Regions from separate parts of the Homo sapiens genome. Here region 1 is linked to region 2. Evidence: promoter capture Hi-C in 16 types of primary human blood cells and fetal thymus (Javierre and others, 2016). All regions are on one chromosome and are shown on one strand. The core of a region is centred on a gene start or on the middle of the fragment in contact, and the rest is flanking DNA. Distances in the headings are between cores, read along the strand shown. Region 1 overlaps PRDX4 (peroxiredoxin 4). Region 2 holds the start of PHEX (phosphate regulating endopeptidase X-linked).

Evidence for each region. Contacts are between HindIII fragments. The CHiCAGO score rates a contact against its expected background, and 5 or more counts as called.
Region 1: a fragment that was not itself captured here is called in contact with the fragment with the promoter of PHEX in region 2 in 1 of 17 cell types (neutrophils); the score reaches 6.3 in neutrophils.

The regions. Positions count from the first base shown.
Region 1 is chrX:23,672,178-23,675,066 of GRCh38, reverse strand. It overlaps PRDX4 (peroxiredoxin 4), which reads right to left. Exons shown (of 7, transcript NM_006406.2): 3 at 1-77. Among named protein-coding and RNA genes, the nearest start is that of PRDX4, 6.1 kb to the right of the region's middle. The HindIII fragment of the contact is 4,829 bases long and covers 1-2,889 here.
Region 2 is chrX:22,030,813-22,033,598 of GRCh38, reverse strand. PHEX (phosphate regulating endopeptidase X-linked) reads right to left here and starts at 1,274. Exons shown (of 22, transcript NM_000444.6): 1 at 476-1,274. The coding sequence starts at 593. The HindIII fragment of the contact is 6,886 bases long and covers 1-2,786 here.

The sequences.
Region 1 (2,889 bases), core at 1-2,500, 1.6 Mb before region 2:
CCACTTCAGTATTTATAGATCTGAATTCTTCAAGTCTGTCGCCAAAAGCGATAATTTCAGTTGGACACACAAATGTGCTGAAAGGTAAAAAAAAAAAAATATTCAGTATTCTCCAAATAAGCATATACCTAAACTTTCAAATGACAATTTTTACAAATACCTTTAATAATAAAAATGCACATTAAGAACAATTTTATATTTGAACCTTTTCAAAATGGAGTAGTCTAAAAGACTGTCATTTAATCAAATATTTAAGACAGAAACATATTACAGAGTTCCCAACTACATCTCAATAAACTTTCTTATTACAACTTAATAGATCAGTAGTCAACCAATGTTCCCTTCTCCCTTATAGCAATAGCCACCCCTCATTTTATTACTTTTATTTAATAATACCTTTTATTTATATAGTATTTTATAGCTTTCAAAGGATCTATACAAATTTTATGTCATTTCACTATTTTTTTTTTAATATTCCTATACCAACCCTATGAATTAGATGCATCTATGTGTATTTTGGAGAGGAGGCAATGTTTTCCAGTACCCCCACCCCTCCTTTCTTGATAAGGTCCTCTTCCACCTTGTCTACCAGTCCTGTGCAGCCAGGGATTTTATACCTTAATACCCTCATGTTGTCAGGCCATGTTTACAGAATATTACTAGGGTGGCATTTTTTCAAACCGTGGTAGGGACTCCTTAAATTAACTGAGTTCTAAAAAATATTTTTAAAAAGTGAAATCGAATAGAAAACAGGAGACTCTATCATACATACTAAGGGTAAATTATGAAACACATATTTATATATACAAATATATATGTTTGTCTTCAACAGTGATGATATTCAAAATATTTAACAATCTTAACTCAAAGCTGGCTTTAGTTCTGGAGGTTTCTGAAAGGGATCAGGCAGGAGGACTAACTAGTTGGTGAGGAAAGGGAAGTGGCTATTTACCACATGATATGAGGGTTTTTCAGTATTTTAAGGAGCATGGCTGTGCTGGTGCATCCAGATGGAATGTTACCGTATATATATGTGCCTGTGTACTGGCTGACAACGAAAAATGTATTTCCTACTGTGAGACATGGTCAAGAAAGTTTGAAAAACATAGACTTAGTTAGGGCACAAGTTCCTACCAGATACCAATACAGGATTTTAACATGTTTCAGGTATTCAGGTACAGCACTGTCATGTCCAAGTAGACAGTTCTAATCTCGGATGATGTCCCTGGAAACCTGGGCTATAAAATGTATTTTTAATATTTTCTAAAGGGTAGGAATGGTCAGCCTCAGCCTTCCTTTTTTTTTTTTTTTGTGGCAGGGTCTCACTCTGTCACCCAGGCTGGAGTGCAGTGGCGCGATCTCAGCTCACTGCAACCTCCGCCTCCCGGGTTCAAGCAATTCTCCTGCCTCAGCCTGCTGAGTAACTGGGACTACAAACGCCCACCACCACGCCCGGGTAATTTTGTTTGTATTTTCAGTAGAGACGGGGTTTCACCTTGTTGGCCAGGCTGGTCTAGAACTCCTGACCTCAGGTGATCCGCCCATGTTGGCCTCCCAAAGTGCTGGGATTACAGGCGTGAGCCACTGCACCCAGCCTCTGCCTTTCTTCTTATTTCAAGGAATGCTACCTAGAGATACATTTGACCAACTTCTTAGTGAAGACAGAAAAAGTTTTGGCAGGAAACTGAAGGGTTACGTTTGTAACTTTCCTCCTTGTAGACTGTGGCAAATGCCCCAGAATTCTTCCTTCTCTAACCAGGCACAGTCCAGCATTACATGAAAACAGGAAGAGGCTATCTTAGCTCCTTGTCCCAGAAGACCATTGCTAACAACATGCTCCAATTAACTATCTCTTACCCATTATGGAGTTATGAATAACAATGGAGAAACACAGAACATATTTTTCTGCTACATTAGACTAACTTCCAAATTCAGGGTGTTAGTCGTATATATTTAACATACATGTTAACCTTCTGGTTTTATAACAACATGAATTTAGAAGGCCTGTCATTTTTTATGTCTACTGAAATTTCTACTTCTGGTTTCTATTAGAAATTAAGCTATACTTAAAAAAATCAAGTCACAATATGAGTTGATTAGAAAGAAGCAAGTTCTTATAATTTAAAAGATTATATATTATGCAGACTCATAACTTTAGTCTCAATGTAATAATTTTCATGAGAATTCTTCCTTTGTGGCTTAGAGCAGGGGTTGGCAAATAGGTCAATAGGCCAAATCCAGCAGAAAAAATTTGTTAATCCCTGGCCTAGAAACAACCTATAGCAATGAGCTTAAGTATACCCTCCCTGCAAGTTTAAATTTGATCTATGTAGTTCCAGATTAGTCCTAATGGAAAAAGGCACAGTGGCAAAGATAGAGGAGGAAACTTCTAGTTATTTGTTGTAACCAAAAAGTAAGTTCCAAGAGAATAAAAGATAAAAATTGACATAACTCTTTTTGGTCTCTTCTCACTTTCATGAATTTTGAAAAACACTCAAAATAGTGTTTTGTAAAATAAAATTAAATCCTCAACGTGAATAAAGCTGTAAGGGTATTTACTTTTAGTCAACTTTCTGACCATATACAAAAACGCTCACTGTCACAGAGTTAAAAAAAGACGAGAAACCCCACAATAACCATAACATATACACAGGTGTTATTCCTTATTCCTTAAGCAGTATATAATATTTTCAGCAAAATGTTCAAATCCCAGAAAAGCAACAGATGCAGCAAAGAATAAAAATGGAAAAACCACAGTTACATGGTATCACTAGAGAAAATGGCTTAATTTTCTTTTTCTTTTCTTTTTGAGATGGAGTCTCGCTGTCGCCAGGCTGGAGTGCAGTGGCACTATCTCAGCTTACTGCAACCTCCGCCTCCAGGGTTCAA
Region 2 (2,786 bases), core at 25-2,524:
ACACTTTAAAGGACTGATTTGTGTTTTGTGAATTAAATTTCATGATTCGTTCAAGCAAACATTAATAAAAGTCAAATGGAAAGACACTCCAGCATGGTTTTCATCACAATGTAAAGTCTTTCCTCAAAATATAAATGAAACTATGTGACTATGAATTCACAAACACTCATTTTGCTAAATGTACCACATAAAAAATTTTCCACCCAATGCAACAGAATCAGCCAGCCACTCGAAGCCACTTACACCCACTTTGCCTTCTGGACTATACATTTGGTACTTGGGTGTATTTATTTATTTAGGCTCCTTAAAAAAGCCTTCTTTATCATTTGCATATTTGATAGAAACTAAAGATACACCACCTATGAACGCAGGCAAACAGCCCTATACCTGTGTTATGACAAGTTTTGCTACAATAAAGCACAAGGAAACTTCTCGACACACACCCAGTTCCCCCGGCCTCCTGCACTCCACTTACCTAGAAAGAGGATCGTGCCCAGAACTAGGGTGCCACCGACAAACACGACCAGGGCAATTCGAGTGCCTCTGTTGGCCTTCTTTCCAGTCTCCACGCTGCTCCCTGTTTCTGCTTCCATCAGAAGGGCCGTAGAGAGCACACGAGAAGAAAGTCACTTTTCGTGGTTTGGTGGCTGGTCTCAAGAGCGAGGCGTTGACATCCAAGGCTTTCTTGCTCTTCTACTAATGGACAGCTTAAGAAACTGCCGTCAGGAAATCTCCCCTCGCCACCCTTTCTCAAATAATTCTTCACAAATGAAAATTATAAAAACCAAAATATTGGTTGCCTTGGCTTTCCCCCTGACTAGACAAAACAAACAGTGTTGCTTTATCTTGGTGCTCTCCCTCAGCAAAGTCCCTGTTTGGCAGGCTCTTCTCTCAAGCGTTCCGAGTATATATGTTTTACTATGTTGCTGAACAGATGTTTTAGCTATTTAAATGTATAGTCACTTGGGGAGGAAAAAAACAATTGTTTTATCAAAACTGGATTCTCGTGAAACTCCCCCAAATCATGATAAGTTAGGTGGCCAGGATTCACCGGACCCACTTCAAGATCTCAATTAATCATGTAATTCTGTTGCAAGAATCATTCTGCTTGCCTGAATTGTCTTCATCAAAGATATTCTTTCAGTGTGTGAGTCCCTTTTTAAAGCCTTCTAAGAGTTCCTAGGATATCCTGGAGCATTTTATTTCAGGAACTTTGTGTATGATAGCATGTGCCAAAAATCAGTCATAGTCCAGTGCAGTGCAAAGTAGCAATTAAGACAACCTACAGAGGCTGATGGTTTGAACTGGAACTTTTTCTTAAAGGAAGGAGAAAAAGCACTTCCTCTTTGTGGTACTAAGAAGTGTACAAAAAAAAAAACCCACAAAAAAACACAAGTGCGTGAATTAAGTTTATTAGCAACTACAAAAGATATGATGAAAAATTTTTTCCTTGTGTGTTTTTGATGAAAAGTGCACCATGTGTTTTGTCTGCCACTCCTACTGAGGCAGCCATTCATTAGGATGTTTTTGTGTTTACATAAACTGTCCACTTCAGCAGATTCCCCAGGATGAATTCAAAGGCAATTGGTTTCAGGCCGGGCGTAGTGGCCCACGCCTGTAATCCCAGCACTTTGGGAGGCTGAGGCAGGGGGCTCGCTTGAGGCCAGGAGTTCGAGACCAGCCTGGCCAACAAGGCGAAACCTTGTTTGTACTAAAAACACAAAAATTAGCCGGGCATGTTGGTGAGCACCTGTATTCCCAGCTACTCAGGAGGCAGAGGTGGGAGAATCGCTTGAGCCTGGGAGGTGGAGGTTGCAGTGAGCCAGATCGCGCCACTGCACTCTAACCTGGGTGACAGAGAGAGAGACCCTGTCTCAAAAATAAACAAACAAAAAACAAAGGCAGTTGACTTCACTGGAAAGACTGATGAATGACTGGGTCTTTGATATTTTTGATTATGATAATGATTTAAACGATAACAATGTGCTTTCTTCATGGGGAAGGGCAACTGATATTCCAATGCTACCACTGAAATGATATAGATTTTATTATCCAAAGATATAGATATCGTTAACTCACAACACAATTACTACCTACCTGCTTTTGTTTTGCTGGAGGTCATAGGGCAGTGGGAGTGGGGGTGGAGAATTCAACTATATCTAGAAACCAGTAGAGCAATTATCTCAATGCAAAACTTGTGCGCATGGCTTTAGAGGTGACACAGGAGCTCAGCAGGTGCTGATGAGCTCAGTATAACATGGCCACACATTCATGGTCCTGTCTGGCTTGTCTTGGTCAGGGCTTAAGCCCTTAGCATGGGATTCTCTCAAGTTTTGGGGCTTATTCCATAATATACCTTACTTTCTGCTCATTTCATGTTGCGCCAAAGTCAGGGGGTCACAAGCCTTTGTCCAAGTTATGACATCATGGTGTGTTGTAGTTATCCTGTGCTCATTGGCTGTTGACATTATTTTGTTGCTGTTATTCCATAACACACCCTAGCAGGACTTTGGCCCCTAGTATGGGATTCTCCCAAGAGTTTTTGGACCTCACTCTAGAACACATCTTAGACCATGAGTTCCACAAAGTCAGGAACCATGTTCAATGTTGCAGCTCCAACATCGACATTTCCTGGCCCTTCACAGTGAAAAGGAGAGCAATAAAAATCATACAAGTTAGCCCTAGCCACTTACTCTTAACAACCAGCTTCAGCTGGGCGCAGTGGCTCACGCCTGTAATCCCAGTACTTTGGGAGGCCAAGGCGGGTGGATCACGAGGTCAGGAGT